Linked DNA regions of Homo sapiens: regions 2, 3, 4, 5 and 6 are each linked to region 1. The links are contacts of gene promoters, found by promoter capture Hi-C in human tissues and cell types (Jung and others, 2019). All regions are on one chromosome and are shown on one strand. Each heading gives the region's core, a stretch centred on a gene start or on the middle of the fragment in contact. The rest is flanking DNA. Distances are from core to core; before and after follow the strand shown. Region 1 holds the start of ITIH3 (inter-alpha-trypsin inhibitor heavy chain 3). Region 2 holds the start of SFMBT1 (Scm like with four mbt domains 1). Region 3 overlaps SFMBT1 (Scm like with four mbt domains 1). Region 4 overlaps SFMBT1 (Scm like with four mbt domains 1). Region 5 overlaps SFMBT1 (Scm like with four mbt domains 1). Region 6 overlaps PBRM1 (polybromo 1).

Region 1 (3,494 bases), core at 381-2,880:
GCAACCCAGCCACCTCCCTTGCAAACCCTTGGAGGCTCTGAGGCCCCTGCCCGGCACGCAACCCTCATCCTCCAGGTCTTCTACACTGGAAGACTTGGTGGCGTCTCCAGTCTCCATGTTCTGGTGGCCACCATTATTCAGATGCTTGTCCTGCCTCCTTAATTCTGCGATCCGTTTACACACCACTGCAGCCAGTGAGAGCTTGCCCTTTCCCGTCCAGTCACCCTGAGCTCCAGCTATGCGTGGGACACTGGCTCTGGAGCATCTGCCCCTGGCTCTTCCTGCTCATCCTCCACACCTCACACTCCCTCAAGCACACAGCCCAGCCCACCTCCTGGGTCTTTAGGTAATTGCCTCATTCTGTCTCCCAAAGAGGAACTGATTTCCTGTGCCAAGGGAAGTCTCCAAACACCCTCTTTCCAATAGGGGTGTTGAATTTTGAGAGGCTCTAGGGAGGTGTTCCAGCCCCCTCCCCCTAGGGATATAAAGATGCTTCGTGAGGGTGTGGCAGGGACCGCTTCACAGAGCCAGGTACCAGCAAGTGCTAAGGAAGTGTCTGCGGAAGGAAGGGATGCCTGTGAGGGGCCCTCTTGGGCTACATCCTGCGAGGTTGGAGGGGTCGTCACTCTGTGGTGCTCTTTCCCAGGAGTCCTGCGCTGTTGGAGGCTGCCAGGGCAGAGGGCCGTAAGCTGTTTGCCAGCTGTGAGGAGTCAGCTGTTATAGCCTACACCTTCAGCAGTTGGGGAACCAGCTCCATCCTGCCCTGCCCCACTCGGTCCCACCCCCTGGTGAAAGTTCTTACCCCTTCCGGGAGGCTCCGTTTCTGAAAAAACAAAAACAAACACAAACACAGGAATCAGGCCAAGGCCAACACCAAGGCCGCATGGCCTGGGAGGCTCTGGGCTGAGACCAGGGGTTCAGTGGTGCCCTGCCCCCCACACACCTGAGTGGCCCCCAGACATAGGACCCTCCAGAGCCACATGTCAGAGTAGGAAAAACTCTGAATAGATGGGGAAACTGAGGTCCAGAGAGGGGCAGGTATCCAGGTTACCAGGAGAGCAGGGCAGGGGGAACTGAACCCAGAGCTCTCTTCACACCCTACATGCCCCACCTCATTCTATCTCCCATTCTGCCTTTCCCTGGCCCCCAGGCCCCTTTAGGCCTCCTTCCAGAGCACCCCTGCCCCCGCCACACCCCGCAGGGCTCAACTGAGCATTTTGTAGAGGTCACACTCGTTTGAGACTTGAACCTTCATTGCCCCTCAGTGAAGTGAGCAGTTCCTGGTGCATTGCTCTTTTGACAGGTGGGGAAGCTGAGGCCCAGGGAGTTTTAAGAGCCTTCCCAGGGTTAGACAACAGGTTAGCATAGGCCTCAGCTGGAGCCCGGTTCTCCCAGTGTCCACACTACTCCCAGCAGCTCAGTGCCCAGCCCTCTGCCTCCTCTTCACTCCACTCAGAGGCCTTGCCCAGCATGATGCCTTCTGCCCATTCCACACCAAGACCCAGATGGCAAAGAGGGGGCAGACTCACCCCAAGCAGCCGAAAGGGGCTTCTCGGGAAGCCAGAGGCTGCCAAGCTGGAGAGCAGAGCCAAGATGAGACAGGGCCACCATGCAAATGCCATCGCTGAATACTCAGGCCTGGCCCACGCTCCTTATATGAGCAAGCCTGGTGTTTTCCAAGCAGGGTCAGTGACCTGCAGCGGGGGTGGGAGGAGTGGAGGCAGGAAGGGCCTCCGGGAAGCTGGGCATGGGTGGAATGACGGGTCCCTCGATGTGTCTGTCTGAAGAAGGCCTGGTGGGTCTTGCCAACAGCGTTGGGGCTTCATTCCTGAGAGACCGGGGGACTCGGAAGAGGCCCGCAGGAAAGCAGAAGCTGTGGGCCAACAAATGGACCCTGGGACTCCCTGGCGTGGATGATGGAGATGGGGTGTGGAGTTGCATTTAGGGCAAAGGGCATCTCAGCATTGTTGCCTCTTATCCCTACCACTGGGACAGCCTCTCTCTGGCCTCCTGGATTGCAGCCCCTCCCTTCTTGAGGCAGCCAGGGCGTGAAACTAGACTGTCACCTTCAGGCTGGGACCTCCACAGCAGAGCCCCTCGCTCACTACCCTTCTATGGCCCCCAAAGCCCCAGGGAAAGGACACACAACGATCCCGGAAGCCCAGCTGTCTCTGTGATCTGACCCCAGCTTGTTTTTCTGAGCTCACTCTCTTGCACCAGCACACCCTCCCCTTCTGCACATGTCACATCTTTCATCTCTCTGCCAGTCCCAGTGCCTCCCCTCCAGGACCCTTCCCTGGCCATCCCCTAGAGGACTATGGGACATCCCTGCTCCAAGCCCCAAGCCCCCTGAGGGCCTGCTTTGTCATGACCTTATGTTGAGGTGGATGTGCTCAGGTCTGCCTGCCCCCTCTGCACCCAGAGCTCCTGGGGGCTGGACCATGTCATGTTTCCCTCTGTGCTTCCAGGGCCCAGCCAGGGACTTGGCTGCCCTCAGCCTTTTGGGGAGTCATTGCCCTAAAAGTCGTAGTGAGGCTGGGCTCCAGCTTCCAGGACAACAGGAGCTTTAGAGGCAGGACCTGGTCTCAGTGGGGGCTGGGACCTCCTGAGCCACCTCAGGACCCTGCCAGCCTAGCCCCATCAGGGCAGCTGTTGCACACCCACCATACCCATGGCTTCTCTGAGCCAAGCTGACCCTGTGACCCTCCCACTGGGCAGCCCACTACTGAATGGAGTCGACAAGGACGGCTGGGTCCAGGACAACTAACTTATGGGGAGTTCAGCGGCCTCAGCTGAAAGCTCTGGTGCTGACTGGGAGATGTGCAGAGAGAGTTGTTGGGAGCAGAGGAACCAAGAAGGCAAAAGGCAGATGCCACGGGGCAGCGGAAGCCCTGAGGAGGGTGTGGTCTAATGGCTGGAAGAGGCAGCAGCCACAGAGCAATGATGGAGAGTTGCCAAATCAGCCAGGCACTATGGCTCTTGCCTGTAATCCCAGCTTTTTGGGAGACTGAAGCTGGAGGATCACCTGGGCCCAGGAGTTCGAGGCTGCAGTGAGCGCTGTGTTCGTGCCACTGCGCTCCAGCCCGGATGACAGGGCGAGACCCCCGTCTCAAAAAAAAAAAAAAAAATTGAAAAGAGGGAGTTTCCAAGCCAGTGAAATGATGGCCAAGTGGCAGATGCTGCCTGTGCTTGGTGTCTGGCTGGGCGGTGCCTGTTTCCCTCGGGCCTCCTGAACCCTTACACCAACCTCACTGGCAGCAGGCACCAAGCTCGGGCCTGATGGAGGCCAAACCCAGCAGGTGCTGGCGCCTGGGTGTGGAGAGAAGACCCCTCAGAGCTGCCGTGTCCTCATTTCCTGGCTTCTGGGATGTTTTCAGTCCTGTGGCTGCTGGCACTGGGTGGCTGGCACTGTTGCCCAATGGCTCCTCCTCACGGACCTGCAGCTGCCTGCAGAGCTTCTCCTGTACTCTCTCATCTGGACCACTGCCTCATCC
Region 2 (3,494 bases), core at 517-3,016, 250 kb before region 1:
AGAGGTTCAAGTCCCCAGAAGATGGATATGAATAGATTATTCACAGGAGAGGGAATGCATATAGTAAATGCATGGAAAAACATTCATTTTTGAATGTTGTGTCACCTAAGAAATGCTAAGTAACCTTGAACTAGCAATAGACTATTAAAGTAGGGGGGAAATGGCACTCAATGTTTATAAGTGTGTTAAACTCCTTACACTTGTTCCTTGGAGGCGGTAGAATAATTGGGGCAGCTCTTGGGAAAAATATGACGCTGTAAGCCAAGACCACTTGGCCATTCATAGCCTTCTACCTGGGAGCCTTTCCACTCCCAGGTATTTGTCCCAAGTGCAGAATTCAAGGATACGTTAGCAAACAACCGTAAAGAACCAAAAACATTAGGGGGCTGAGTGAATAGTTAAGGACACCTGCACACCTTAAAAATGAATCGTGAACAAATAAAAATGGTAGTGAAAGTAGTAACAAAAAAAGTGTGGTTGCAACTATACACAGTATATATATGTTTCATGTCGTGAAAAGTTGCATTTCTTTGTAACAATATGGATTACTGTATTCTTTTTAGATTTTTCTTTCTCCGGTTGTCATATTGTTTTTTCAGTGGTGCTAAAAAAAATCTGGATTCAAATCCAGCCAGCAGCGTGACTTTGAGCAAGTTTGTGAAGTGGGATATTTCTCAGAGCGGTTGAGGGAGGTGGCTTGAGCTCGCACCTGGCACACGGTGAGAACCCCAGACTTTCTTCTTGCTGTGGGGGCGCCTCTGGGCCCTGTCCGATAACGCCTTTCACGGCCTGGGAGTCTGATCGGGAGCTCCCGGGTCTCGGTGGCGCGGGAACTCCCTTCTGGAGGGAACTTTCCGGAGCAGGTGGGCGGGTGTATGTCCCACGGGCACCTGCGCTCAGGAGGAGGGGGCGAGCTCGGGCAACGTAACCGCCCACGGTCACCTCGGGCTGCGGGGCCGACTTGAAGCCGCCTTCGAGGTTCTGATCCTTCCCGGGGCTCTGGGCTCGTTCGTCCCAATTCGCAGCTGTCCTGTGCCCCCTCGCTGCAGGAAGACTCAAGATTTACAGGGCGCCTCCTGCGGAAGCCTAGAGACATCGGGGGCGCCGAAGGGCCCGCGCCGGACTTCGCAGACAGGGGGCACTTGGGTGCCCTTTCAGGTCTCAGAGGGAGCGCCCGATCCCCGACGAGGGGCAGGCAAACGGGCGCAGTGCCCGCGGCGGCGGCACGCGCGCATCTGGGATCCGGCCGCTTCTCCGCTCATGCCATCTTGTCCGAGCCAGTCACGTGCGGGCGACAGCGGCGCGCTTCGCCGGGCCGGTACTCCAGGTCCGACCCGCGAACCCCTCTGGGATCCCCGCCGCTCTGTCTACAACCCGAGGTGAGGCGCAGGCTGGATCGGGGCTGGGCCAGGGCGGGCACTGGGTTCCCGGGGACGCGTCTCCTCTTCCGGGCCGTTCCGCTCGGGGCCACAGCGCCGTCGGGGGCCCGAGGCGCCGCCGCGTGTCCTGCGCCACGGCCTCGGGGCCGTCCGCGCCGAGTTGCTGGCTGGGGGCGTGGGTGGCCCGCGGCGCCGGACCCCCGGCACACCAGCCCGCGGAGTCCTTGCCTCCCGCGCGGCCCCAGCCAGGAGGGATGGCGCTGGGGCGGGAGCGGGGCAGCCGGGCCCGGGAGCTCCACGGGCGCGGCGCGAGGGGCGCAGGCTGCCTGGAGGACCGCGGAGCTGGGGGTGGGGGGGCGCGGGCGCATGCGCCCTGCGTCCGTGCCATATTGGAATGAGTCGGAGCGCGGAGCGCCGCCGCCGCCTCCGCCGGAGCGCGGGTGGAGGGGGGCGGGGAGAGCTGCCGGCCGCCCCGCTCCGCCGAACCCAGCAGGAAGGAGGGCGCGAGCGGGCGAGCGCGGGCAGCACGGGAGGAAAAAGCTTCCGCGCGGGGGAGCGAAAAGACGGAAAGAAAGAAAGAAAACGAGCGCGAGAGGGGGAAAAGCGAGCGATCGAGCGAGCGCGCGCGCGAAAACTCCGGGCAGGTAAAAAAGCGGGGCCACCGGCTGGGCCTTCCCGCGCGGCGGCCTGGAGGGGCGGCGGCGGCGCCGGGGCGGGGGACCGTACGGCGTCCCCTTCGAAGCGGCCGCGCAACTTTGCCAACGGGAAACCGCCGGGCGCCGGCGGGCGCGCGGGCTGAGGCGCCAACGGGCGGCGGCGGCGGCACGTTGGGGGCGGGGGCGGGGCGGGGGGAGCGCGGCGCCCGCGCGCGGCCCCGCGGTCCCGCGCGCCGGCCGGCCGGCTGCAGGGGCGCGCCTGGGCGCCTCGCCGCGGCGGAGAGCGGCGGCGGCCGTCAGCCCCTGGCAGGCAGCGCGGCGCGCGTCAGCCCGCGGGAGGCGTGAAAGGAAAGTGGCCGGGCGGCGGCAGTGGCGGGCGCCCAAGTTCCCCGGCGCGCCGGGCCCGCCGCGCGCCCCTCCCCGCGCGCGCCCCGCGCTCCGCCCGCCGAGCCCCCGCGGACCCGCCCCCCGGGCTCGCTCCGGGCGGGGCGCGAACCCGCAGCTGGGGCCGGGCGCGCGGCCGGTCGGAACTTCGGAGGGCCCGGGCGGTCGCTGCGCGGTGGCGGAGCGTCTAGTGGCCGCCGCAACCGGTGGCTCCGGGCCGCCGTTGTGAAGTGAGCGGGCCTCTCCCGCGCCGCGGCCCGCCGGGCACCGCCGCTGGACCCCGCGCCGACCCGGCAGCGCCCCGACCTGCCGCTCGGGAGGTCCGCGACCGTTTCGATTTCTGTTCCTAAAGTCCGATTTTGGACGCTGAAAAGGAGGCTGTGGAGGGGCGAGCGGCGTCCTGGGAAGCAAGGCCTGCTCTGTGCGGAGCAGAAACGCCTTGTGCGAACAGAAATAAATTCCCGCGGAAAGGATGTACGTTATGCTAAGTTTTTCACAAGATGTCAGCTGTTCCCGTAGGGTCTAAAACTAAGCCGGCAGGCACAGGTCACCCCCAGAGCTTGTGCTCAAGGAGTGGTGGACGCTTGGGTCAGGTGGGGGTGTTCCCAGCGGGTCGCCCGAAGCAGCACTGGTTGATGGTCCCAAGTGGTGTTTTTGAGTCCTGTTAGCAGTGATCTGTGTTTGAGAACCAAGTAACCATCAAAGAGATTCGAAAGGAAGTAAGATGGATTTTGTCAATCCCTGCGTATGTCTTCTCTTGAACCACATTTTCTAAGATGTCATTCTTAATTTTATTGCATCTGGGTAAAATGCCTGAACGTGTAATCATTAATTTGTCAACTGGCGAGAGGATGAAGGAAGATGTGTCTTCATGTGTACACTTTGAGGCCTGTTGACTAGCGTTTTGAGGCATTTGTTGAATTAGGCCGTAGGTAGATTCGGAGTTAAGATTTGTTTGCGATGTCAGAAAAGTTACGGCCTGGTAGAAACGGCCAGAGATCAGGAAACAGTTCTGTTATTACCGTTGTCATTGACTAACTGCCTTATCTTGGGCACATTTCTTACCCATTGTAGC
Region 3 (3,494 bases), core at 631-3,130, 230 kb before region 1:
CCCCCATTCTCCCCACCCTCCACCCACCACATGTTGCAGAGGGGATGGCATAGGCAGAATCCCCAGCTGAGTCTTGGGAGACTAAAGCATCTGAAGATGTCTTCAGACTACTGAGGTGTTGACCATGCTTTTGAAGCCTAAGGCCTGAATGTATGCTGCTTGTTATGAATTCAGATACTTTGCTTTTGTATTTTCGTTTTGAGAAAATTGCAGCAGCAAGGATTAACAAATTGTATCAATTTCTGTATTTGGGTGGTATTCTTTTGTACATTGGCAGAAATATAGCTAAGTTTTTAAAAGTTGGTTTTTACCTGGGCTACTTGGTAAGGAATTTTAAAAATGCTGCTCCTGTTCTGGCGCAGAATTTCTAAAGAAACTGAGTTTGGAATCTTGAAGCATTCTGTAGTTGAATCTTACAGTGTTGTATATGCCTTTGTAGCCCAAGCTCTTAGTTATTATCCTTCATTAAAAGAACTTCAGAATACCCCTCAGAGAATATATTTATAACCCTTCAATAACGCTCTGCATACTGCCATTTTCTGTAAAATATTTTCCTAAAAAGTGTGACAATTTGTGGTAGTCTATTCTTTTTCTCCCCCATGGTAGTACATTTCTAGCCCATGACTTTTTTTTTTTTTTTTTTTTTTTGAGACGGAGTCTCGCTCTGTCGCCCAGGCTGGAGTGCAGTGGTGCATCTCGGCTCACTGCAAGCTCCGCCTCCCGGGTTCATGCCATTCTCCTGCCTCAGCCTCCCGAGTAGCTGGGACTACAGGCGCCCGCCACCATGCCTGGCTAATTTTTTTGTATTTTTAGAAGAGACGGGGTTTCACCGTGTTAGTCAGGATCTTCTCAAGCTCCTGACCTTGTGATCTGCCTGTCTTGGCCTCCCAAAGTGCTGGGATTATAGGCATGAGCTACCGCGCCCGGCCTAGCCCATAACTCTTGTGACTTGCTCAGAGAGTGTTCACACCAAGCCAGTGACAGGCAGGCAGGTCCCCTCTGAGAGTACTTGTGCACTTCCCTGCAAGGGTTCCCAGCCACGAGTGCTAGACTGGGCGTTTCTGAGTTGTGTTTGCTCTGCTATGGCCTTCTTTCTGCCATTTATTCTGTGTTCTAGCAGGTAATTTTTTTTTAAGATGGGGTCTTGCTATGTCACCCAGACTGGAATGCAGTGACCATACACAGGTATGATCATGATAGCACATTACAGCCTCCAACTCCTGGACTCAAGCTGTTTTCCCATCTCAGCCTCCCGAGTAGCTGGGACTAGTGGTACAAGCATGTGCCACCATGCCCAGCTAGTAAGTAGTTTTGACCCATGAAGGCAGACAAAGAGATGTGACTTGTAGAGTTGAATTTGTGGCAAAGAAACAGTATCACACTGTATGTCAACACACAAGTTTTATGGAACTAAGGTGACTTCAAGAAGTGGTCTGAAAGCGAGGCATGGTGGCTCATGCCTGTAATCCCAGCATTTTGGGAGGCCAAGGCAGGTGGATTGCTTGAGCCCAGGAGTTCGAGACCAGCATGGGCAACATGACAAAACCCTGTCTCTACAAAAAATACAAAAATTAGTTGAGTGTGGTGGTGTGCACCTGTAGTCTCAGCTACTCAGGTGGTTGAGGCAGGAAGATCACTTGAATCTGCCTCCAAGTGAGCTGTGTTCGAGCCACTGCACTCCACCCTGGATGACAGAGCAAGACCCTGTCTCAAAAAGAGTGGTCTGAGAAAAAGAAACAACCGTAGACGTCAGCAGGCAATTAGGGTTAATCAAGTTTTTTGTACTGTGAAAGGCTTTGTAAACAATGGGGTAACCTGGCAAGTTGGACTATCCAAAGTTTAACCCATTTATGCCTACTGTTCCATTACTGGAACGCTAAGCTTGTGGGAGTTATTTATATCATAGTGCTCAAGGTCATCACCAAGGTCTGAGTTTTCACACAAAAAAATTTGCAACCTCCAGCATAAATGGGTTAAAGAACAGGGGGAAGAAACAATGGCTTAAAGGCATGTTTTAATTTCACAGGATTTTAAGAGGAAGCAAATTTCCTGTGGATGATGCCTAACGAATTTACATACGGACTCTGCTTTAGTGACCTTTCTCATTCTTCCATCCATGCCTGTGAAAAAAGGCAGCTGCAGCCTGATTGGCCCATGTGCACACTAGGACTTGTCAGAAATAGCTGACCTCTGGGGCAGATGGTAGGCACTGAATCACTGAATTTCCTTCTCCTGTGAAAATGACAGTATTCCTGGAGGCAGAAATGTTATTGCTGTGTTAAAAAGTTGAATTTTCTCATTAGTGAACTGGAGGTGCCATGATCTGATACCATAGTAATTCATTTAGCAGACACTAAGTAGCTGTGACATGAAGCAGTGGTGCCAGGGGTTTAGGGAATGCAAAATTGAGTAAGTTCCCTGGCCTAGAGAAGCTTATAATCAGGATAGGAAATGATACAGAACTTGTGTTTAAGTGTTGTCAAAAAAGTGTAAAGCGTCTACTATGGAAGGTGTTTTAACGGGGGTGGGGGAATGGGCTAACATTTGTAGAGTTTTGTTTTGAGAAAGGATTTTTTGTAGGAGTAAATGGCAGTGAGTTAGTGATTTGTGAATACTTCTATATTGTATTATTAGTGTAAGAATTTTTAATAAGCTAAAAATTTCAGGTCTTAATAGAGGAAACATCTAGTGTAAAATAAGAAAGTAACCCTGAAATTTTCTTTTGAATTCCCTTCCCTGTTGGGCATGGTGGGTCATGCCTATAATCCTAGCACTTTGGGAGGCCAAGGAGGGAGGATTAGTTGAGACGAGGAGTTTGAGACCAGCCTGGGCAACCTAGCGAGACCCCATCTCTACAAAAAATTGAAAAATTAGCCAGGTGCGGTGGCACGATTGTGTAGTCTTAGCTACTTGGGAGGCTGAACCCAGGAGGTCGAGGCTGCAGTAAGCCGTGATTGCACCATCTTACTCCAGCCTCTCCAGGGACAGGGCAAAACCCTGTCTCTAAAGGAAGAAAAAAAATCCCTTCTCAAACCTTTATCTTTAGCGCTGCCTCCTTCTTAAGCTATTATTTAATTTTGTTGAGGTTCTTGCCAGCTCTTCCTTTTTGAGAGTGCGGCTAAGAACCAACCACACAGATCTCTGGGCTGTTATATCTAGGACTGTAGGCAGCCCCACAGGGACCTACCTGTAACTGCAGTGAGCAGCTGTGGGGGCACAGGGAGGGAGGGTAAACTCTGTTAACTTGTGGCCATGAACATGCAGCTTGGTAGGAATTCCAGCTATCCTTAAAGGGCCTCAGCCTTTTTACTTTGTATTCTCTGTTGAGTTCCTCTATTTGCTCTTTAATTGCTAAGGAAGACTTACTGTCCTCACTGAGTGGCTACGTGTGAGTCGTTTGCTGTCTTGACTTATGGTTTTGTGTGTTTTTAGAATCTTTCCTTTCTAGTACAATAAAATATTTTTATTATTTTAAAAATTAAACTGATTTTGGT
Region 4 (3,494 bases), core at 469-2,968, 190 kb before region 1:
AGATTTAACCAAAAATTTCTATATATTTAACATTAGATACTTTTGGTTTTCAGAGAATGTTTACATATGTTAGATTGAAAGGTGTGGGGGTACTGAAATCTATAAAAACAACTATTAAGGTGTGACTAGGGTCTAATACTAACCAAACAGAAGGCTGCCAAGTGTCCTGCTGCGCTTTGGAAATAACAGGTAAGTAAGTAGACTGCTATTCTGCCAGTTAGGGTTTTGGTTTTACATCTTGCATATAAGTCTGTTTAGATTCCTAATTAATTATCATAACCTAGGCTGGTTTTTTTCCTCATGTCCATTTAACTTTTTGTGCCAAATTATTTTACAGATTTAATGTGTTACGTAGTACATCTCTAGTAGTAACCAGAGATTTACTCCTTTTTTGGAAGCACTTACTTTAAAAGCTCCTGAAGAGTTGTTTTGTGTTCTAAATAATTTATACTTTTTCTAAATAACTAATACTTGTTCCTAGTATCATTGTTGTTAAATGTTCAGCATGCCTCTTAGGTATTGGCTCAGTGTTTTGCAGCAGACATTCACCATTGTGTTTCCCCGAGGATACCCTCGCAGCAGCATTACCCTGGAGTTGGGAGGCGTTCTTGAGGGACAGGTTCTTGAGGTGTTCTTGAGGGACTGACCTGTATGGTTGCCTGTCGTGATTTTTGAGGGGTGGTAGCCTATCCAAAAGTTCTCAATATTTATAACTGATAATCTAGTTCTTATAGGGCCTTAAACTTAAAAAAAATTCCAGTGAATTAATTGTACAGCATATGTGTCTATAGTCTAGGCATCTTTAAATTCTAACATAGAGCTTTTAAAAATGCTTGTATGTTTAATGTAACAATACAAAGCAGCAAAATCCCCAGAGCATCCTCTCTTATAATCACGAGTTAAAGTTTGGTGAGTGATTGGACCTCCCAAGGGTCTCTCTAAGTCAACCACTATAACTTCCCCTCAGCTCTCTTCTGGGTTGAGGCAGAGCCTGTTACTCCGTTGGGGAAAGACTTTGTTTTTTATGCTTTCCTGATGATTCTGACATTTTTGATGATGGCTGTTTATTACACTGATTTTTTTAGCCTTTTGGCTAAATTCAGTGTTATTCCATTCTTAATTCAGTGTTATTCCATTCCATTAAAGAATTAATAAGGAAATGTGTTTTAATTTAAAAATGTGTACTGTATCCTTTCATATGAATTAATCTGTTTTAGGGCCCTACTAGAATAAGATTTTAGAAGCTTATAGATGGCAGCATCTGTCTAGGTGCCATCCAGACTCTTGGTTACTCACCATTCTAAGCAGAACAGTATGGAACTTAGAAGTTAAATGAATGAATGAATAAAACAACTTGAGCGCAGATCATCTAGGGCCATCACTCTATGGTATAAGACATACCTCACAATTATCCTTGTATTCTCTGAGCTCCAAGAAAAGCCCCAGAGCCCAGAAACACTAAGGAGCTCAGGCTTGGGATCAGATGAGGGTTCAAATGCTGCCCCTGCTGCTTCCTATCTACAGTCATGCATGGCATGATGGTGTTTCAGTCAATGGTGGCCTGTATATATGACGGTGGTCCCATACAGTTATAATGGAGATGAAAAATTCCTATGGCCTAATGATGATGTAGTAGCCATCCTAAAGTCATAGTGAGATACCTACTCGTGTTTGTTGTGGTACTGGTGTAAATAAACCTGCACTGGCAGTTGTATAAAAGCATAACACATACAGTTATGTACAGTACATAATACTTGATCATAATATATAACTGTGGTTTATTTACTGTACTTTTAAATCATTATTTTAGAGTATATGCCTTTTATTTATTAAAAAAAAATTAACTGTAAGCCAGCCTCAGACAGGTCCTTCAGGAGGTATTCCAGAAGGAGGCACTGTTATCAAGGAGATGGCAGCTCCATGCATGTTATTGCTCCCGAAGATCTTCCAGTGGGACAGGATGTGGAGGTGGAAGACAACGATATTGATGATCCTGGTCGTGTGTAGTCCTAGGCTGTTGTGTTAGTTTTTAACAAAAAGTTTTAACAAGTAAATAAAAAGTTAATAGAAAAAAGTTATAGAATAAGGATATAAAGAAAAAATATATATATTTTGAGATGGAGTCTCACTCTTTCGCCCAGACTGGAGAGCAGTGGCACGATCTCGGCTCACTGCAACCTCCACCTCCCGGGTTCAAGCGATTCTCCTGCCTCAGCCTCCTGAGTAGCTGGTATTACAGGCACTCGCCACCACACCCTGCTAATTTTTTTTTTTTTTTTGAGACAGAGTCTTGCTCTGTCACCAGGCTAAAGTGCAGTGGCGCGATCTCGGTTCACTGCAACCTCCACCTCCCAGGTTAAAGCGATTTCCCTGCCTCAACCTCCCGAGTAGCTGGGACTACAGGCACCTGCCACCATGCCTGCCCGACTAAGTTTTTTTTTTGTATTTTTAGTAGAGATGGGATTTTGCCATGTTGGCCAGGCTGGTCTCAAACTCCTGATCTCAGGTCACCTGCCCACCTCGGCTTCCCAAAGTATTGGATTACAGACGTGAGCCATGGCGCCCGACCAAAAAAATATTTTTGTACAGCTATACAGTGTTTGTATTTTAAGCTATGTGTTATTACAAGAAAGTCAAAAAAATTTTAAAAATCAAAAAGTTTATAAAGTTACAGTAAGCTAAGGTTAATTTATTATGGAAGGAAGAAAAGTATTCTTAAAACAAATTTAATGTGGCTTACATGTGCAGTGTTTAGAAAGTCTACAGTAGTATACAGTAATATCCCAGGCCTTCACATTCACTCACCACTGACTGACTCACCCAGAACAACTTCCCAGTCCTGCAAGCTCCATTCATGATAAGTGCCCTATATAAGTGTTCCATTTTTTATCTTTTTTTTTTTTTTTTTCCTGAGACGGAGTCTCACTCTGTCTCCCAGGCTGAAGTGTAGTGGCATGATCTCAGCTCACTGCAACCTCCACCTCCCAGGTTCAAGCAATTCTCCTGCCTCAGCCTCCTGAGTAGCTGGGACTACAGGCGCCCACTACCACACCGAGCTAATTTTTGTATTTTTAGTAGAGACGGGGTTTCACCATGTTGGCCAGGCTGGTCTCAAACTCTTCACCTCAAATGATCTGCCCACCTTGGCCTCCCAAAGTGCTGGGATTACAGGCGTGAGCCACCTCGCCTGGCCTCATTTTTTATCTTTTATGATATATTTTGACTACACCTTTCCTATGTTTAAATATGTTTAGATACACAAATACTTACCATTGTGTTACAGTTGCCTACAGGTTTGTAGCCTAGGGGCAATAGGCTACACCGTATAGCCTAGGTGTATAGTAGGCCGCACCATCTAGGTTTGCGTAAGTATACCCTATGATGTTCGAATAATGACAAAATTGCCAAACAACAAATTTCTCAGAACATATCCTCATTATTAAGCGATGCATGACTGTGTATGAACTGACATGTTAACTTTTCCTCATCTGTAA
Region 5 (3,494 bases), core at 306-2,805, 140 kb before region 1:
GGAGACACTGTGGTATATAATAGCTGTATGCTCTGAAAATGTAGTTACATTATTACTATAAAAAATATGGGACAAGAATGGGGAAAACGTGAATAGTTGTATAAGCCCACTAATTGTCTTAAAAAAAAAAACAGCTTTATTGCCATGTAATATAACTATTTAAATGTTAACTGGGAGTAAAAGGATAGTACCTGAAATGAGATGCTGAAGGAGAGAAAACGAAGGGCTTATAGCTAACTTCAGTATTGTTTATAGAAACAACAACAACAAAATAGAAAGTAGTCCAAAAATAGAGAGGACTAAAAGTGTTATATAAAGGTAATCCGTAGAACAAAAATAAGAACCTTTCTATATGACGAAAGAGACTTAGAAAGAGAAACTATATGTGTAAACGGGATAGATCACATAGTAAAAAAAACTACATATACACGAAGTATATAACATTTAACAATATGAAATTTAGGCCATGCATATTAATAATATCAATAAGTGTTACTGGGCATACTCTTTTATTAGAAGTAAACAAATAAATTCAGATTGCCTCATAAAGCAAAATCCACTCTTGTCCTCTGTATAGGAGACATACCTAAGCAGAGAGACTACGAAAAAGTAAAAATAAAAGGACAAAGATGTACAGGCAACTGCCAGTAGAAAAGAAACCAGCTGTCAGTCTTGATAGCTGACAAAGGATACTTTGTAAGAAAAGCAGCTATAGACAGCAATAAAAAGGAGGAGGGTCTGCATACAACCAAGGAGTGGGCTCAGGATATGTTATTGTATGAAAAAAAGAAAAATGTGTACAGACTTGAGGAGGAGGAGAGCTCAAGGATATGATGATACAAATGTGTGTGTGTGAACTTATTTTTTTCAAAATAAAAGAGTAAATCGTTGGCCAGGCGCAGTGGCTCACTCCTGTAATCCCAGCACTTTGGGAGGCCGAGGCGGGTGGATCACGAGGTTAGGAGATCAAGACCATCCTGGCCAACATGGTGAAACCCCATCTCTACGAAAAATACAAAAATTAGCCAACCGTAGTGGTGTGTGCCAGTAATCCCAGCTACTCAGGAGGCTGAGGTAGAAGAACCACTTGGACCCGGGAGGCGGAGGTTGCCGTGAGCTGAGATCGTGCCACTGCACTCCAGCCTGGGCAACAGAGCAAGACTCCGTCTCAAAAAAAAAAAAGAATGAATCATTTAGAAAAAAGTTACCTATGGGGAAAGAAGGGAAAAGAATGAAGGAGGTAGGAATAGAAGCTAAATTTTATGAATGTACCTTATTTTATTTTGTAGATTTGACTTTTGAACCTTGTAAATATTTTATGCAACTAGAAAGCAAAATTAAATGTTTAGAAAGCAATTCCTAAAAATCAAGGAAACCTAACTGTATATGGAGCTTATGGGATAACCACACAAAGAGGAGCTATTTCAGTGACTTAAAAATACAGTAAAATATGAAAGTATGTCCCCAGTTAGGGTTATATATTCTAAGGACAACAATAACAAAAAAAAATGCAAAGAAAAAATCTTAACCTATTTTTAGTAATCCTACTGTTGGTGGTAGACTTAATGTTGTTACTTTGAAATAGTTGTTTGTATATGGTAGGCAAAAGCAAATAAAGAATGAAATGTGTGGCCGGGCGTGGTGGCTCACCCCTGTAATCCCAGCACTTTGGGAGGCTGAGGCAGGCGGATCACAAGGTCAGGAGATCGAGACCATCCTGGCTAACATGGTGAAACCCCGTCTCTGCTAAAAATACAAACAATTAGCCAAGCATGGTGGCGGGCGCCTGTAGTCCCAGCTACTCAGGAGGCTGAGGCAGGAGAATGGCGTGAACCTGGGACAGAGCAAGACTCTGTCTCAAAAAAAAAAAAAAAAAAGAAATGTGTAATTGAGAACTAGGATTTTCAGCGTTATAGAAAGGAAATAGAGCTTAGATGGATGAGTTAAATGAAAGCACTATCTTTCTGAATTTGTATTGGAAGTATTGTGATGTAAGAAGAAGAAGAAATGCATTAACTCTAGACACTGAAAAGGCCGAGAAACACTAACCCAGTGACAATGAGCATGCCCAGGTCTCTAAATACCATTTCCATGGAAATAAACTGGGGCTTCTTGCAGAAGTAGCTGAGTCCTGCACTAGGTCAGGCAATTTCCTAGATGATCCTGGAACATCTTGTCATACCAAAAAGCAAAAAAGTTATCAGTGGCTCTTTACTAGTGTCATGCCAAAAGGTCTCAGGAGCCAACCTGAAGAGACTGCCTCTGGTTGAAGATAGAGTGTCGTAAGGACAACAGCTGTAATGGCTTGAAATGTATTTGTTTTAATGTATGACTTCATAGTGAAATTTTGAAACAAAACCCTCATTAGCCACTCTTGGAAGATGCCTGCCAATCAACTGTTTATTTTAAAGGGTGGTAAATATAGAGAAAGAGTAAAGACAATCAAGTATATGTTCAAAGAAAGCCTTCTTTCTATGAAATCTACCTCAGCATAATCAAATAGTTGATGTAGAGAAATTTTTCTTTATGGAAGTTCTTTGGTTAGTAAATGAAGAAGGAATAATACAATTAGAATATCACCATTGAGCCCGTAATGAATCAGTGCATCTATGTAGTAACCGTTAAAAGCTGCTAATGTCACAAAGGGAGAGACAGCCAGACCATATGTGCCTCTTCATGCTCTTGAGGGAAGGGTATAACTTATTCCACTTGTGAAGTATTCTTTCACCCTCACCACCCCGCAAAGTCTAACCTGAATTTGATCAAGCTTCTAGCTCTAAATACTGATTTATGGCAAATACAGGGAACAGTAGAACAACTGGTCACCACAGGGACGTAACCAATGAAATCAGACTCTAAAAAACTCCATAGAGAACAAAGGCCAGGTCTCAATAAATGTGGAGTAAAAAAAGAGAGAGTAGGGACACGGGAGGGGAGGAAGGAGAAGAAACCTACTGATGAAAAGAAATCAAGGAGACATTTGCAATGCGTGCGTCTCACTTGGGTCCTGATGTAATCAAACAAATTGACAAAACTGTTTATGAGACAATTGGGGAAGTTTGAACATAGACTGGATATTTGATATTAAGGAATTATTGTTAATTTTTTAAAGGTATGATGTTGTTATTGTGGTTTTGTAAGAAAATATTTTCTTTTAGAAATATGTACTAAAATATATATATGGATGAAATTATATGCTATCTGGAATTGTCTTCTAACTGATCCTTGGTTGGGCATGGGTGGAGTGTGAGGGTATAAGCCAGGCATTGGCAAATTATCTGTAAAGGGCAAGATAGTAAATATTTTAGGCTTTACTAGTCATACAATCTCTGTCAAAGCTGCTAAAACCCTACCTTTGTAGTGTGAAAGCAGCCACAGACAATATGTAAACAAATGGGTATGGCCATGTTCCAGTAAAACTTTATTAACAAAAACAGACAGCAGGCTGGATTAAGCCCTCGAGTTGTAGCTTGTAAATCCTGGTTTAGATGAAA
Region 6 (3,494 bases), core at 706-3,205, 140 kb after region 1:
AAGTGAAAGCAGGGTATTGAAGAGATATTTGTATACCCATATTCATAGCAGCATTATTCACAATAGCTAAAAATGGAAGCAACTCAGGTGTCCATCAGTGAATGAATGTATATGTGACATATACATACAGTGGCATATTATTTGGCGTTAAAAAGGAAGGAAATTCTGAAACATCCTACATGGATGAACTCTAAAGACATTATTTTAAGCAAAATGAGCCAGTCACAAAAGGACAAATACTGTATGATTTCTTATATGAGGTACCTAGAATACTCAAAATCTTAGAGACATAAAGTTAGAATGGTGGTTGCCAGGGGCTGGAGGGAATGGGGAGTTGTTTAATATGTACAGAGTTTCCATTTTGCAAGATTAAAAAGTTCTGGAGGTGGATGTCAGTGATAGTTGCACAGCAGTGTGAGTGTACCTCATGCCACAGAACTGTACACTTAAAAATGGCAAATTTCATGTTACTACATGAAATTTATTTTATTACAGTAAAAAAAATTATAAAAGAAGTACAGGATAGGTGTAGTGACCCACACCTGTAATCCCAGAGCTTTGAGAGGCCAACATAGCTGAGACTCTGTCTCTACAAAAAAAATTTTTTTAATTAGCTAGTCATGGTGGTGTGCACCTGTAGTCACAGCTGTTTGGTGGGGCTGAGTTTGGAGGATCACTTGAGCCTAGGAGTTCAAGGCCGCAGTGAGCTGTGATCATGCCACTTCACTCCAACCTAGGCAACAGAAAGAGACCCCGTCTCTTTTTCTCTCTCTCGCTCTCTGTCAACTCTCATTCACACATGCACACATACACACAAAATAGAAGTACTGTCTTCGCTCAAGATTTATTCTTACCCTGCAGGAGATAATCAGTGATGGTCAAATCAACAACAGTGATATGGGGCAATGAAACATCAATAATTAGTTCCCCCCATTCCCCCTTCAAGGTCACCTTGAAGGAGCTGGTTGGGAAAAGCAGGTTTCTATTGGTCTCTCAGGGTGTGACAGTTTGAAAGACAACAAGGATTGACAGCTGAAGGGGCAGGACAGTTTTCACCTTTCCTTAGTAAGTCCGTCCCAAGCAAGCTGGCTGCATGGGAGAGATAGATTGGGAATTTGTGGGATTGGATGACTTTGAATTACTTTGTACTCCATGCTGGGTGGCCTTGCCATAATTTGTCCTCTGAACTTTCTCTCAGAAGTAGAACTGGTGAAGAGAAGGGGCAGCAATGGAGATTCATCCAAGTAAAGGAAGGAGTAGGGTTAAGAAAGTAGTGGTAAGCTTAGGGGACAGATGAGATAAAACAACACTGAGATAATCTGTTCAGCCCAGTAACTGAGTGAAGGCTGTGGCTTTCTGCTTTTGTTGTTGCTGCGTGGGCTTCAGTAGGGTTTGAACAGGTGGGAAGAGTTGGGAGAGCACAATCTGACTTCCCCTGAACCTCTCCCATCTGATAAGACCAACTTTTGATATTTGGGCAACTTCAGTTATTTCCTCCAAGGAAGAAAATCTGTAGGAAAGCCTGAGTGCAGTGAGTGATTCTAGGTTGTTGTGAAAGCTTCAAGGACATTCCTCAACATGTTCAATTTCTTGGGATGACCTAGTATTTGATAAATCAGAAGTTGCTAATAATTTTGCTTCATTTCTTTTCTTTTTTCAAGACAGTCTTGCTCTGTCACCCAGGCTGGAGTGCAGTGGCGTGATCTCAGCCCACTGCAACCTCTGCCTCCCAGGTTCAAGCGATTCTCCTGCCTCAGCCTCCTGAGTAGCTGGAATTACAGGCACCCGCCACCACACCCAGCTAATTTTTGTATTTTTAGTAGAGACGGGGTTTCACCATATTGGCCAGGCTGGTCTTGAACTCCTGACCTCGTGATCTGCCCGTCTCGGCCTCCCGAAGTGCAGGGATTACAGGCATGAGCCACCATGCCTGACCAGAATTTTGCTTCATTTCTTTCTTTCTTTTTTTTTTTTTTGAGACAGAATTCTGCTCTTCTTGCCCAGGCTGGAGTGCAATGGAGCAATCTCAGCTCACTGCAACCTCCACCTCCCAGGTTCAAGCGATTCTCCTGCCTCAGCCTCCCAAGTAGCTGGGATTACATGCATGCACCAACATACCAGGCTAATTTTGAATTTTTAGTAGAGATGGGGTTTCACCATGTTGGCCAGGCTAGTCTCGAACTCCTGACTTCAGGTGATCCACCCACCTCAGCCTCCCAAAGTGCTGGGATTACAGGCGCGAGCCACCATGCCCAGCCGTGCTTCATTTCTTTAACAAAGTTTCATTCAAAAGGTATTTTGTTTTGAAAAAACTTACTTTGACTGAAATAAGCAGAAGCATCAAGTTAAACATGAAGCTAACAAATTTTGCAACCTGACTTCTTACAGATCCTTATGAAAGTTTATGTGAATATTATATAATAACGTTATTTAGATTGCAAAATTAAAAGAGCTTGTAACAAACTCCTAAAGAGCATTTCTTCTACTTTATTTCTAGGCATAGATATCTTGGGACCTTAAATGAAAAATTGTATAATTCTGTGAATTTAGAATTTTTGTTTGTTTTTTGAGACGGAATCTTGCTCTGTTGCACAGGCTGGAGTACAATGGCGTGATCTCGGCTCACTGCAACCTCCATCTCCTGCGCTCAAGTGATTGCCCTGCCTTAGCCTCCTGAGTAGCTGGGATTACAGGCGCACACCACCATGCCTGGCTAATTTTTGTATTTTTAATGGAGACAGGGTTTCGCTATGTTGGCCAGGTTGGTCTTGAACTTCTGACCTCAAGTGATCCAGCTGCCTCAGCATCCCGAAGTGCTGGGATTACAGGTGTGAGCCACCGCGCCTTGCCGAATTTAGATTATTTATTTTTTTTTTGAGATGGAGTCTTGCTGTGCCGCCCAGGCTGGAGTGCAGTGGCATGATCTCGGCTCGCTGCAACCTCTGCCTCTTGGGTTCAAGCGATTCTCCTCCCTCAGCCTCCAGAGTAGCTGGGACTATAGTTGTATGCCACCATGCCCAGCCAATTTTTTTTCTATTTTTAGTAGAGACAGGGTTTCACCACGTTAGCCAGGATGGTCTCAATCTCCTGACCTCGTGAACCACCCGCCTCGGCCTCCCAAAGTTCTGGGATTACAGGTGTGAGCCACCGTGCCCTGCCTAGAATTTTTTTTTTTTTTTTTGAGACGAAGTCTCTTTCTTGTCCCCCAGGCTGGAGTATAATGGCACGATCTCAGCTCACTGCAATCTCTGCCTCCCAGGTTCAAGCGATCCTCTTGCCTCAGCCTCCTGAGTAGCTGGGATTACAGGTGCCTGCCACCACGCCCGGCTAATTTTTGTATTTTTAGTAGAGATGGGGTTTCACCATGTTGGCCAGGCTGGTCTTGAACTCCTGACCTCAGGTGATCCACCTGCCTCGGCCTCCCAAAGTGCTGGGATTGCAGGCGTGAGCTACCGCACCCGGCCCCAGCCTAGAATTTTTTAAAACATTAAATT

The links. Contacts are between HindIII fragments. The study calls those that stand out against the background at their distance.
Region 2: the fragment with the promoter of SFMBT1 here is called in contact with the fragment with the promoter of ITIH3 in region 1 in 1 of the 25 tissues and cell types used here (spleen).
Region 3: a fragment that was not itself captured here is called in contact with the fragment with the promoter of ITIH3 in region 1 in 2 of the 25 tissues and cell types used here (liver and spleen).
Region 4: a fragment that was not itself captured here is called in contact with the fragment with the promoter of ITIH3 in region 1 in 5 of the 25 tissues and cell types used here (bladder, lymphoblastoid cells, mesenchymal stem cells and 2 more).
Region 5: a contact is called between a fragment that was not itself captured here and the fragment with the promoter of ITIH3 in region 1, in 2 of the 25 tissues and cell types used here (adrenal gland and spleen).
Region 6: a contact is called between a fragment that was not itself captured here and the fragment with the promoter of ITIH3 in region 1, in 2 of the 25 tissues and cell types used here (spleen and thymus).

What each region holds. Positions count from the first base shown.
Region 1 is chr3:52,792,932-52,796,425 of GRCh38, reverse strand. ITIH3 (inter-alpha-trypsin inhibitor heavy chain 3) reads right to left here and starts at 1,630. Exons shown (of 22, transcript NM_002217.4): 1 at 1,530-1,630; 2 at 803-823. The coding sequence starts at 1,622. RefSeq lists an enhancer at 1,143-2,032. The HindIII fragment of the contact is 27,249 bases long and covers 1-3,494 here.
Region 2 is chr3:53,044,345-53,047,838 of GRCh38, reverse strand. It overlaps SFMBT1 (Scm like with four mbt domains 1), which reads left to right and starts at 1,766. Exons shown (of 21, transcript NM_016329.4): 1 at 1,766-2,023. RefSeq lists enhancers at 449-948, 949-1,450 and silencers at 1,438-1,547, 1,598-1,917, 2,018-2,077, 2,438-2,727. The HindIII fragment of the contact is 17,124 bases long and covers 1-3,159 here.
Region 3 is chr3:53,026,326-53,029,819 of GRCh38, reverse strand. The region is part of intron 1 of SFMBT1 (Scm like with four mbt domains 1); the gene reads left to right. Among named protein-coding and RNA genes, the nearest start is that of SFMBT1, 18 kb to the left of the region's middle. The HindIII fragment of the contact is 5,578 bases long and covers 1-3,494 here.
Region 4 is chr3:52,985,560-52,989,053 of GRCh38, reverse strand. All of the region lies in intron 1 of SFMBT1 (Scm like with four mbt domains 1), which reads left to right. Among named protein-coding and RNA genes, the nearest start is that of SFMBT1, 59 kb to the left of the region's middle. The HindIII fragment of the contact is 4,868 bases long and covers 1-3,494 here.
Region 5 is chr3:52,935,277-52,938,770 of GRCh38, reverse strand. The region is part of intron 4 of SFMBT1 (Scm like with four mbt domains 1); the gene reads left to right. Among named protein-coding and RNA genes, the nearest start is that of STIMATE-MUSTN1, 39 kb to the right of the region's middle. The HindIII fragment of the contact is 6,743 bases long and covers 1-3,494 here.
Region 6 is chr3:52,652,072-52,655,565 of GRCh38, reverse strand. The region is part of intron 6 of PBRM1 (polybromo 1); the gene reads left to right. Among named protein-coding and RNA genes, the nearest start is that of PBRM1, 32 kb to the left of the region's middle. The HindIII fragment of the contact is 3,551 bases long and covers 180-3,494 here.